3 separate regions of the Homo sapiens genome follow, and regions 1 and 3 are each linked to region 2. Evidence: promoter capture Hi-C in 16 types of primary human blood cells and fetal thymus (Javierre and others, 2016). All regions are on one chromosome and are shown on one strand. The core of a region is centred on a gene start or on the middle of the fragment in contact, and the rest is flanking DNA. Distances in the headings are between cores, read along the strand shown. Region 1 holds the start of TXLNA (taxilin alpha). Region 2 holds the start of AZIN2 (antizyme inhibitor 2). Region 3 has its middle 19 kb from the start of ZBTB8A.

What was found. Contacts are between HindIII fragments. The CHiCAGO score rates a contact against its expected background, and 5 or more counts as called.
Region 1: a contact is called between the fragment with the promoter of TXLNA here and the fragment with the promoter of AZIN2 in region 2, in 5 of 17 cell types (naive B cells, total B cells, non-activated CD4 T cells and 2 more). The highest score is 7.8, in naive B cells.
Region 3: a contact is called between a fragment that was not itself captured here and the fragment with the promoter of AZIN2 in region 2, in 3 of 17 cell types (naive B cells, total B cells and M0 macrophages). The highest score is 6.3, in naive B cells.

The regions. Positions count from the first base shown.
Region 1 is chr1:32,177,997-32,181,839 of GRCh38, forward strand. It overlaps TXLNA (taxilin alpha), which reads left to right and starts at 1,679. Exons shown (of 11, transcript NM_175852.4): 1 at 1,679-1,780; 2 at 2,318-2,518; 3 at 3,246-3,581. The coding sequence starts at 2,350. RefSeq lists enhancers at 857-1,616, 1,617-2,375, 2,263-2,342, 2,463-2,622, 2,633-2,682 and silencers at 1,553-1,742, 1,883-2,062. The HindIII fragment of the contact is 3,390 bases long and covers 1-2,229 here.
Region 2 is chr1:33,079,768-33,083,467 of GRCh38, forward strand. AZIN2 (antizyme inhibitor 2) reads left to right here and starts at 1,386. Exons shown (of 12, transcript NM_052998.4): 1 at 1,386-1,527; 2 at 1,621-1,741; 3 at 1,834-2,045; 4 at 2,411-2,587. The coding sequence starts at 2,483. It overlaps LOC105378635 (a long non-coding RNA gene), which reads right to left and starts at 1,229. Exons shown (of 3, transcript XR_947163.2): 1 at 1,154-1,229; 2 at 432-560. RefSeq lists a silencer at 1,348-1,607. The HindIII fragment of the contact is 16,354 bases long and covers 789-3,700 here.
Region 3 is chr1:32,518,570-32,522,097 of GRCh38, forward strand. No RefSeq gene overlaps it. Among named protein-coding and RNA genes, the nearest start is that of ZBTB8A, 19 kb to the right of the region's middle. RefSeq lists enhancers at 2,611-2,660, 2,711-2,830. The HindIII fragment of the contact is 798 bases long and covers 1,148-1,945 here.

The sequences.
Region 1 (3,843 bases), core at 429-2,928, 900 kb before region 2:
AGGCTATTGTTGACCCTTCTACTACATCCTCTATCCCTCACCCCATGCATACATTTTTATGTTCTTTATCTCACCTAGAACACCCTTGTTATATGGAAATCTATCAAGGCCTGATTTATATGGTGCCTTCTCAAGAGATTTCCAGAATGCTTTTCTAGAAATAATCAGGGCCTTGGTTTCAGGACATCTAGATTCCAACCTTTCTGAGCCTCAGTTCCATCATTATACTAAAAATTGAATATCTCTTATCCAACATGCTTGGGACCAGAAGTGTTTCCAATTTGGGATTTTCTCAAATTTTACCGGTTGAGCTTCCCCAATCTGAAAATCTGAAATCCAACATGCACGGCTCTGAAGTCTTTCACTGAGCCTTTGGGGGAAATATTTAACATCCTAACAGCCCTAAACCAACGCTCAATTAGCACAACAGTTTACAATCTTCTCTACCCACAGCCTGATGCGAGGCTCTGGGACTAGACTATTTAGCCAACAGTTCTTGCAAAATTAACTGACTTATAAGTAAATAGTAATTTCAACACCTCACTGCTAATGCTGTAACAACTCTGCAGACCTAGGGAGCAAGTACGGTTTGCAGAGCACTGGGAAGGCTCTGAAGTGACCTTTGAACTGGGCCTCAAAAAATTTTGGGTTTGGCAAAAGTCAAATCTCTTAGGCTTCAAATTCCAGGCACAAGGATTGTTGGGTTTGATTTCATTATCCAGAAGCAATGGGGATACAGAATTGTGATCTCATGTGTAGGGAACTGTGGGGGTTTTTTCTACTTTAACCCCAGTGAGACTTTGTAGAGTGTGGGGTAGAGAAAAGGCTCATGAATATGCCTGAAGCCTAACTCAGCACCTTTCTGAGGAACTGACTGCCAAAATGGTAATGGAGAGGGGAAAATATGACCTACTTTCACAAGTTACCTTGACTGCCTCAGGGAAACCTGCTGTGGTAGTGTTTCTTCTGGGTGAAAGACCAGGTAATTACCTGGGTGCTGGTCTCAGACTTACCAGTTTTGAATCCCTGTTTTAACCACTCACTATCGATATGACCTTGGATAAGTTACCTAACCTTTCTCTTACTGTCCTTTTCCGTAAAATGGGGATAACAGATAGTAGTTATTTCTATGAGTGGTTATGAGAACCAAGCTATTAGATAGCGGGAAAGCACACAGTAAGCGTTCAAGGAACTGCTATTGTTATTAAAAGCCTCCTTTGGAAGAAGGACATTGAGGCCCAGAGAGAGAACAGAACGTCCAGCCACACAGCAAATCCGTGATGAAGTTGGGACTGGAGTATGGGTCTCCTGAGTCTCAGCCCAGGACTCTATCCCTCTTCCCGAGTCCTCGGAGTTCCCGGATGGAGTCACATTTGTTCACGGCCAGGGAGGAAGGTTTGATGGAGGCCTGCAGGAAACAACAGCCAGGCGCAAGGCTTTGGGAGTTGAAGCATAGCTTCTGCGAGATAGAAACAAGGTTGACATGGGCACTCGTGCAGAATGACGGGCTCCTTTTGGACTCCCAGGACTACAGTCCCTTATGCACCTTGGGATCTGCGGCTAGCCCCTGCGTAAAGAGGGACGCGTAGTCTTTTCCCTGCCCCGCCCTGCCGGGGCGCCCGCCTCCGAGGCCGCCCTCGCTTCGTCCTTCCCAGCAAGCTCCGCGCCGGCGCCGGCTATTGATTGGCTGAGGCGGGAGCAGGCGGCTGGCCGGCAGCAGTTACTCGGGGTTTCCGGTGCGAGGCCAGAGGTGGGGAAGCCATCGGACGTCGGCGGTGAGGTACGTGCAGCGGCGGCCGGTGGGCGAGACTATTTGAGAGTGTGCGGGCCGGGATGTTCTCGGCCTGTGGGGAAATCACGCCAACTCCCCGCGTGGGCCGGGGGCTGTCTGGGGATATGCGCATGCGCGGGCGTGCCTCGCGGCTTGAGGGCGCGCGGGGCGTGGGTGGCTGCGCGCGCGGGGGGCGCACGTGGGGCCTGAGGGGCGGGGGCGGTGCCGGGAGTCCCGCCACGTCAGTCTCCGGCCCTGAGCCAATCCCGCGCCCGGCCTGCCGCGAGGGGGCCGGTTGTGCCGGGAAGTGGCTCCAGGGAGAAGAGGCCTCTTCCCTCACCCGCTGTGGGAGCTGCGCCCCGAAAGCCTGCCCCGGCACGTCGGGCTCTCCTGACCCGCCAAGACCAGAGAGCCGTTGGCGCCCTCCGCCCGGGCCTGCCGGTCCGTTTATTTTAAGAAGCTTTGTGCGCCTGCTGTGGGGATTTCTGATCCAGGCTGCGAAGAATTTCGAAGTCTGGAAAATAGCAACTGTGTTTGTTTCTAAAGGATCTTCTCCTGACCCAGCATCGCTCATCACAATGAAGAACCAAGACAAAAAGAACGGGGCTGCCAAACAATCCAATCCAAAAAGCAGCCCAGGACAACCGGAAGCAGGACCCGAGGGAGCCCAGGAGCGGCCCAGCCAGGCGGCTCCTGCAGTAGAAGCAGAAGGTCCCGGCAGCAGCCAGGCTCCTCGGAAGCCGGAGGGTGTGTGCCAGCTCTGCGTTGCCAGCGGGCAGGGGGAGGAGCTGTGGGGTCGGCCTCGCTTCTGGACTTACAGGCCGAGGCCAGGTTGTCCGGGAGGAGGAGATGTAGAATGAGAGGACAGTGCTGGGGGCCGCGGTCCCCCCTGCGCTCTGGCGAGTTGGCGGAGCTGCCCCCTCTAAGCACAGGAACAGAGTTCTGGAGAGAAGCTCCGACGGGATTAAGTCAGGTGGCAGCCAAACGAGGCACCCAGTCAGGAAATCCAGGTCCCGTTAGAAACACCTCAGCCACCAGCAGCTAACTGCCCTTCCTGTTTGAGGCATTTCTAGAATGATCTGAATGGCAAGAAATGGTTTTGTGGGGGGGAAGGAGATGGACTAGAAGTTGCTCCGTGCCATCCCTGTGTGCTGATGCTTTACATACTTTTATGATCTAACAAATATGTTCGGGTGGTAGTGAGAAATAGTTGTGTCATTTTACAAGTAAACAGACTTAAAGAAGTTAGGCAACGATTACTATAATTTCTTGATTTAAAAGATGTTTCGAATCTAAATTCTGACAGGAACTAGATTTGCTGAATGATACTCCATTCTTGCTTCTCAGTTTCCATAAAAAAAAAAGTTAGGCAACATTTAACTCAAACTGATGAGTTTGGCTGGGCCTGAAAAATCCCAACCAGTGGTATAATCGTCTTCTTTCTCACTCTACCCCTCATCCTCTCCTGCTGTAGGGGCTCAAGCCAGAACGGCTCAGTCTGGGGCCCTTCGTGATGTCTCTGAGGAGCTGAGCCGCCAACTGGAAGACATACTGAGCACATACTGTGTGGACAATAACCAGGGGGGCCCCGGCGAGGATGGGGCACAGGGTGAGCCGGCTGAACCCGAAGATGCAGAGAAGTCCCGGACCTATGTGGCAAGGAATGGGGAGCCTGAACCAACTCCAGTAGTCAATGGAGAGAAGGAACCCTCCAAGGGGGATCCAAACACAGAAGAGATCCGGCAGAGTGACGAGGTCGGAGACCGAGACCATCGAAGGCCACAGGAGAAGAAAAAAGCCAAGGGTTTGGGTGAGCAGAGGGCGGCTCTTTGTGAAGCTGGTGAGGAGAGGGAGTTTGGACTTGACGTTCTCTGGGCCAGTCTGTTCTGCCAGGATTCAAAGGAAAACGGTACTTCTCAGAGCAGCAAGTCACTCTAGTCTAATCAAAGCCAGGGATGTGGGGGCCACGGCATAGAGAGATGCAGGAGTTACCAGCACAAAGCCTTCTGGGTTTTGGAGCAACTGGAGCTTGGCATGGGACCTGTTCTCTCTTTGAGAAAATGGAGACGGGA
Region 2 (3,700 bases), core at 136-2,635:
TTTGGCTTCATTGATTTGAAATGCTGCCTCCATTGTGTACCAATCTCCAATGTATATGGGACTGTTGTAGACCCTGTTCTGTTTTACCACTGTCTCTTCCTGCTCCAGCACCATACTGTTTTAAAGACTGTAGTTTTGGCCGGGCGCGGTGGCTCACGCCTATAATCCCAGCACTTTGGGAGGCCGGGGCGGGTAGATTACTGGAGGTCAGGAGTTCAAGACCACCCTGGCCAATATGGTGAAACCCCATCTCTACTGAAAATACAAAATTAGCTGTGCGTGGTGGCATGCGCCTATAATCCCAGTTACTTGGGAGGCTGAGGCAGGAGAATCGCTTGAACCCAGGAGGCAGAGGTTGCAGTGAGCTGAGATCGTGCCATTGCACTCCAGCCTGGGCAAAAAGAGTGTCTTGACTGTTCTTGTACACTTACTTTTCCAGATGAACTTTTATATCAGCTTTTGAGTAACACAGCTATTGAATCTTCCTCAGCATTCTTGTCTATGCCAGGCACCAGGCTCTTGAGCAGGGTATTCAGTCCTTGCCCTTGGGAAATCACAAACTAGATGCAAAGTGTAACCAAACAAGAAGTGTAAAATAACAACAGGAATCTCACGCTATGGGTAACAAGAACCAAATGAGTGAGGGGTCCAGACAGACTAAATGCTGTGTTCCTTGGGGCCAGGCAAGTCATGGAAGGTTCAACAGAGGTGACATTATACAGGACTTTGATGGGTGAGCAGCAGCTTTCGGTATAGAAGAAATGCTTTGAGTTGAGGAAGTCCGGGAAAGCTTCTTGGAGAAGGAGACACATTTCTATTGAGAGATGAGTAAGAGTTTGCCGGGTTCACAGGATGGGATAAAGGGAGGGATTGCCCTGAACTGGGAAAGTCACAAAAAGGTTCTCTGAAGACATTTTAGATGCGTTTTGAGTTGGAGTCGGGGAAGATGCCTGGAAGAGGCAATTAAATAAAAAGAATTTTATTACAAAAGTAATACAAGGACATGTCATTGGAACCGGGTTTCGAGAGATGAGTGAGCAGTTCCTGACGCAGACAAGAGCTGGACCACGAAGTAAGTTGAGGCAGAGGCAGAAAAGGCTTCCTGGTCCTGCCCACTCTCTAAGACCTAAGATGCAGGGTCTAAGTGTCTCACCTGCGTGGCGGCGGCCCTGTAGTTCTGACTTCCAGCGTGAGGTAGCCACCGCCAGGCCTCCGGGGGAGAAGACTACAGTAAGGGCGAGCAGAGCTGAATGCTTTATGTCGGAATCGACCAATGGGATGGCGGCACCCGGTTGCCAGGGCTACGGCCAAGCGGAGGTAGGGCCTCGGCACTATGGGCGGGGCCTGGGCGGGGTTATATAAGCCAGCGGCGGGCGGAAGGCGGGGCGTGGGGGTCTGTGGCTGCTGGGCTGGCGGGGCGCAGGCCGCGGGACCCGAGCCCGGGGAAGCGAGAGAGCGGAGGCGCCGAGGATCCGATTCACTCCCTGGGGAGACCTATGGGCCGAAGCCGTGTAAATGCGTTTTAAGGCGAGTGCGGAAAGTGGCCTGGGGAGCCTCGGGGAGCGGACGCCCTCCGCCCTGGTGCTGACCTGCCTCCCTGCCCCTTCTGCCTCCTGTCAGCAGAGGCCTCGGCTCCGCAACTGCCACTCCTCCTCGGGGTGTTGCACAAGTTTCGAGGTCACCGGCGACCCCCCCTAGCAGCGCGCCTGGCTCTGGCCCCCGCGAAGGAGGACGGAGTTTGGTAAGGGGCCCTGGGGGTTGGGGGGACCTCAGCCCTGCACTCTGTAGGAGTCACTCGGACAGAAAAAACCTCGGCCTTCCGTTCTCTCCCAGGAGCTTGCGGCCCCCACCCACCGCGTGGCGTCCCCAGGCACGCCTAGAATTCTAGCACCTCAGGATCAGTCCAGCCCCCATTTACAATTGGGGAAACTGCGGCTCCGAAAGGGTCAGAGGGTACCCGAGGTCAAGCAGTAGAGAGCGGACTCGAACTTAAGCTCTTGCTCTTAGGCTGAGACGCCTTGATGTGGCCACCGGCTACCCTCTAGGTGGGCGTGGTCAAGACTGGGGGCGCCCTGGAAACTTCCCCACCCAAGTTTCTCAGATTTTCTGTTCCATCTCTCTCTCACTCTTTCCTGAAATCCAGAATTTCAGAACTGGGAAGGCTCTCCAAAACAATTCATCCATTTTACAGAGGGAGCAACTGACTCGGAGAGGCAGTGACATTTGGGCATACGGTGCCTTGTCTCCGTCTGAAATCCGGGATTCTTGACTTTCTCCACCCTTGCCCAGTGAACCCCGGGCTTGTGCTGGGGGCGGGTTGTGACGGGATTGGGATCCCTGGCCTCGGGAGGCGAGTGGGGCAGCAGAGCCGGCCCCCCAGCGGTTCCCTTCATCTCCCCTCGCCCCGCAGTGTGTTGCATACTTTCTAAGGCGGCGGCTGCAGCAGCGGCTCCATCCAGCCCGTCAGCTCCTCCTGCAAGGCATGGCTGGCTACCTGAGTGAATCGGACTTTGTGATGGTGGAGGAGGGCTTCAGTACCCGAGACCTGCTGAAGGAACTCACTCTGGGGGCCTCACAGGCCACCACGGTGAGGGGCTGGGAATGGGGGTGGGTCCCCGGTCCCCTGTACAGATCAGCTGCCTCCTCAGGAAGGGTCCCTAGGGCCCTCATCTTATCCTTTCGCTTATTTGGTACGCAATCCTTGCTATTTGCAAGAGAGGGGCTCAATTTATCCCCAATTCTTTGTCCTTGCCCCCAAACCTGCCCCTCCTATGTTGCCTTTTTACCCAGCCCTCCAAGGTCAGAAACGGGGGATTCCTTTCCTGCTGCCCCCTCTCCCTCACCGCCCACATCTAGGCATTACCAAGCTCTGTGAATTCTGCCTCCTTAAATAAGCCTCCAGTGTGCTTATGTGGAACCTCGCTTTCTAGTTCAGTCTTCCTCTCTCCAAAGGCCCCCTGATCTCCCGGTCTCATGCCACCCCCTCCAAAGGTATCATAGTCCTGTTCAAAATCTGAATTTGGCAATTCTCCACTGCCTACAGGATCAAGTCAGAGCTTCCCTGCCTCCATAGCCCCATTCCCAGCTTTCCCCACAGTATATATTATGCTCCTTCGGAGCTGAATGACTCAATTTGCATTTCCCAATGATGCTGTGTGCCCAATGATGCTATTACCATGCCTTTGCCCAGGCTGTTCCTTCTGCCTGCAGCATCCTTCTCTCAGCCTCTCCCCTCTTTACCCCTTTCTAGTCATTCCTTGCTTCTCATCAGTGTTGCCTTTCCTGATCGCCCCAGGCAGATTTTCTATTTTCTTTCTCCATGCCCCTGCATTGCACCTTGTAGAAACTGCCATCTAACATCTGCTGAATGGACTTGTAAGTACTTAAGGGGTTCCTTTTCTTCCAGACCCAAGCTCCTTCAGAACAACAGTACTGTTTGGTCATCTCTGTCCCTTAGCATAACGTTTGGCACCAAGTGGGCATGAGTAAAAAAGTGTTGCATGAAAGGGAAACTGAGTCCCAGGGAAGCAACTCTGGAAGGGTCCCTTCCACATTTAAGTAATGTGGTCTCACCCACAGCCTCATACATGTTTGGCCTTTAGCACATCTACAATGAACAGTTGTCCATAGGGATAGGTTGCAGTGTCAGTGGGACTAGCTTAAGGCTTCATTGAGCACCTGTGTTTGGAAGGCAGTGAGC
Region 3 (3,528 bases), core at 297-2,796, 560 kb before region 2:
TTAGGCCTGGGAGTTTGAGGCTGCAGTGAGCCATGATCAAGCTACTGCATTCCAGCCTGAGTGACAGAGGGAGACCTTGTCTCAAAATAAAAAACAAAAACCAAAAAAACCCACTTGACTCTTTTGTAATAACACTTAGCTTAAAACACACATTCTACAGCGGTACAAAAATATTTTCTTTCTTTATATCCTTATTCTATAAGCATTTTCCTATTTAAAAAATTTTTTTGAAACACCATGACTGGCTAATTTTTGGGCTTTTTGTAGAGACAGGGTTTTGCCATGTTGCCCAGGCTGGTCTTGAACTCCTGAGCTGAAGCAGTTTGCCCACCTCATCCTCTCAAAGTCGCTGGGATTACAGGCGTGAGCCACCTCACCCGGCTAATTTTACTTTTTAAACTTTTTTTGTGAAAAATTAAGACACACACACACCAACACACACACACACTAGACTAGACTAGGCCTACACAAGGTCAGGATTACCAATATCACTGTTTTCTATCTATATATCTTGTCCCACTGGAAGGTCTTCAGGGGCAATAACACGCGTGGAGCTGTCATCTCCTATGATCATGGTATCTTCTTCTGGAATACCGCCTGAAGGACCTGCCTGAGGCTGTTTTACAGAAAACTTTTAAAAATATAACTAGAAGGAGTACATTCCAAAATAATGATGAAAAGTATAGTATTTAAACACACAAACCAGTAACTTTTTTTTTTTTTGAGATGGAGTCTCGCTCTGTTGCCCAGGCTAGAGTGCAGTGGCATGATCTCAGCTCACTGCAGCTTCTGTCTCCCAGGTTAAAGTGATTCTCCTGCCTCAGCCTCCCGAGTAGCTGGGATTATAGGCGCGCGCCACCATGCCCAGCTAATTTTGTATTTTTTGTAGAGATGGGGTTTCACCATGTTGGCCAGGATGGTCTTGAACTCCTGACCTCGTGATCCTTCCACCTCAGCCTCCCAAAGTGTTGGGATTACAGGGGTGAGCCACTGTGCCCAGCCCATAGTCATTTATTATCAAGTATTCTGCACTGTACATAATTATGTGTTCTAGAATTTTGTATGACTGTTAGCACAGATTTGTTTACACCAGTGTCACCGCAGTGCTAGGATGCTACCGCAGCTACAACATCACTAAGCAATAGGAAGCTTTCGGCTCCATTATATTCTTAAGAGACCACTGTTGTATATGCAGTCTATTGTTGACCAAAATGTGGTGCATGACTGCAGTTATTGTTAGATGATGTGTTTTGAAGTGTGGTATGGGAACTATAGTCACTGGAATAATAAACATATAAAGTATAAGTTTCTAATTCTGAGATGAGTAAGATGAGGGTAAGATCATTACATTTGTTAAAGAGCTGGTACAAATTCACAGGTATCTGTTCCAGCTTCTTGTTTCCTCTTTGCTTTTTTTTTTTTTTTTTTGAGAGGGTCTCACTCTGTCGCCCAGGCTGGAGTGCAATGCCATGATCTTGGCTCACTGCAACCTCTGTCTCCCAGGCTCAAGTAGTACTCCCGAGTAGCTGGGACCACAGGTGCGTACCACCACGCCTGGTTAATTTTTTGTATTTTTTGTAGAGATAGGGTTTTGCCATGTTGGTCAGGCTGGTTTCAAACTCCTGAGCTCAAGCGATCTCCTGCCTTGGCCTCCCAAAGGGCTGAGATTACAAGCGCAAGCCATCGCACCAGGCCCCTCCTCTTTGCTTTCTATTAGTCTTTTATCTCCCTGGTCACCAGCGGTTTGTCCAACCGCCTATTTTCCCCTTTTCTTCCAATGAAGAGTCCCACATCTTTCTTTATTAAATTTAAATATTTTTCTCACTTGAATATCTCAGATAACCGATGATCCTCCTAGTTAGTTACAGTTTTGGTGATGAAGACATTCATTTATTCCTCAAATGTATGCAAATTATCAATTTATCATCACTTAACTTCAAACTTAAGCTTTTTTTGCCCTGCTTTGTGCAACCAGCTGGACTCTATAAACATTTCTTCTTTCCCAGCTAGAGCAATGTTAGGCCCTGTCAATAGAGGGCGCCAGAGGGACACTGCAATAGCAGAGGCAGGGGCTTAGTGATTTCAGTGTAATTTTTTTTTTTTTTTTTTTTTAAAGACGGAGTCTCGCTCTGTCGCCCAGGCTCGAGCGCAGTGGCGCGATCTCGGCTCACTGCAAGCTCCGCCTCCCGGGTTCACGCCATTCTCCTGCCTCAACCTCCCAAGTAGCTGGGACTACAGCTCTCACGCCAACACGCCAGGCTAATTTTTTGTATTTTTTAGTAGAGACGGGGTTTCACCGTGTTAGCCAGGATGGTCTCGATTTCCTGACATGTGATCCGCCCACCTCGGCCTCCCACAGTGCTGGGATTACAGGCGTGAGCCACTGCGCCAGGCCAAGTTTTTTTTTGTTTTTTTGTTTTTGAGACAGAGTTTCACTCTCGTTGCCTAGGCTGGAGTGCAATAGCGTGGTCTCAGCTCACTGCAACCTCTGCCTCCGGGGTTCAAGCAATTCTTCTGTCTCAGCCCGCCACCATGCCTGGCTAATTTTTGTATTTTTAGTACAGGCGGGGTTTCACCACGTTGGCCAGGCTGGTCTCGAACTCCTGACCTCAGGCAATCCACCCGCCTCAGCCTCCCAAAGTGCGAGGATTACAGGCTTGAGCCACCGTGCCCGGCTTCAGTGCAACTTTCTTCTTCATCCTACAGTACAGCTCCATGGGGAATGGTGCCCACCCTGCAGTGAGTTTGCTGGCACCCTGGTGGGTGGCCACAGATCTTCCAGCCCACACCTGTGGCACCTCAATGAACTTCACCATCCAGCAGGCGGCAGACATATCCTCTCTGAAGAGGTCTAAATCCCAGTCTTTGGTGGGGCATGGGAAAGGAAGTCCTCTTGCAAGTTTCTTCTTTCCTTGAGTACTCTCCTTCAACCTTAAAGGTAATAGCTGGTCCTGTTGTCTTTGCCATTTGCTACATTTGCTATTCCTGTTTGTTTATTTATGTATTTAAGAGAGGGTCTCACTCTGTCCCCCAGGCTGGAGTGCAGTAGTGCAATCATGGCTCATGGCAGCCTCAACCTCCCAGGCTCAGGTGATCCTCCTGCCTCAGCCTCCTGAGTAGCTGGGATGATAGGCATGCACCACCATGCCTGGCTAATTTGTTGGCCAGGCTGGTCTCAAACTCCTGGGCTCAAGTGATCCTCCCACATCGGCCTCCCAAAGTGCTGGGATTACAGGCATGAGCCACCATGCCTGGCTGTATTCCTGTTTTCTTTGGAGCCCTGTTTCCATTTTAGTAGATAATTACCTGTGCTAGTCAATTTTGTGTGTCAACTTGGAGGGTGTTTTGATGAGATTAACATTTAAATCTGTGAGCTTTGGGTAAAGCAGATTGCCTTCCATAACATGGGTGGGATTCATCCAATCAGCTCAAGTCCCAAATAGAACACAAAGAGCAACCTTCCTGAGGGGATTCTCCAGCAGACTCTGTGGACTGGAACTGCACTGTCAGCTCTCCTATGTCTCCAGC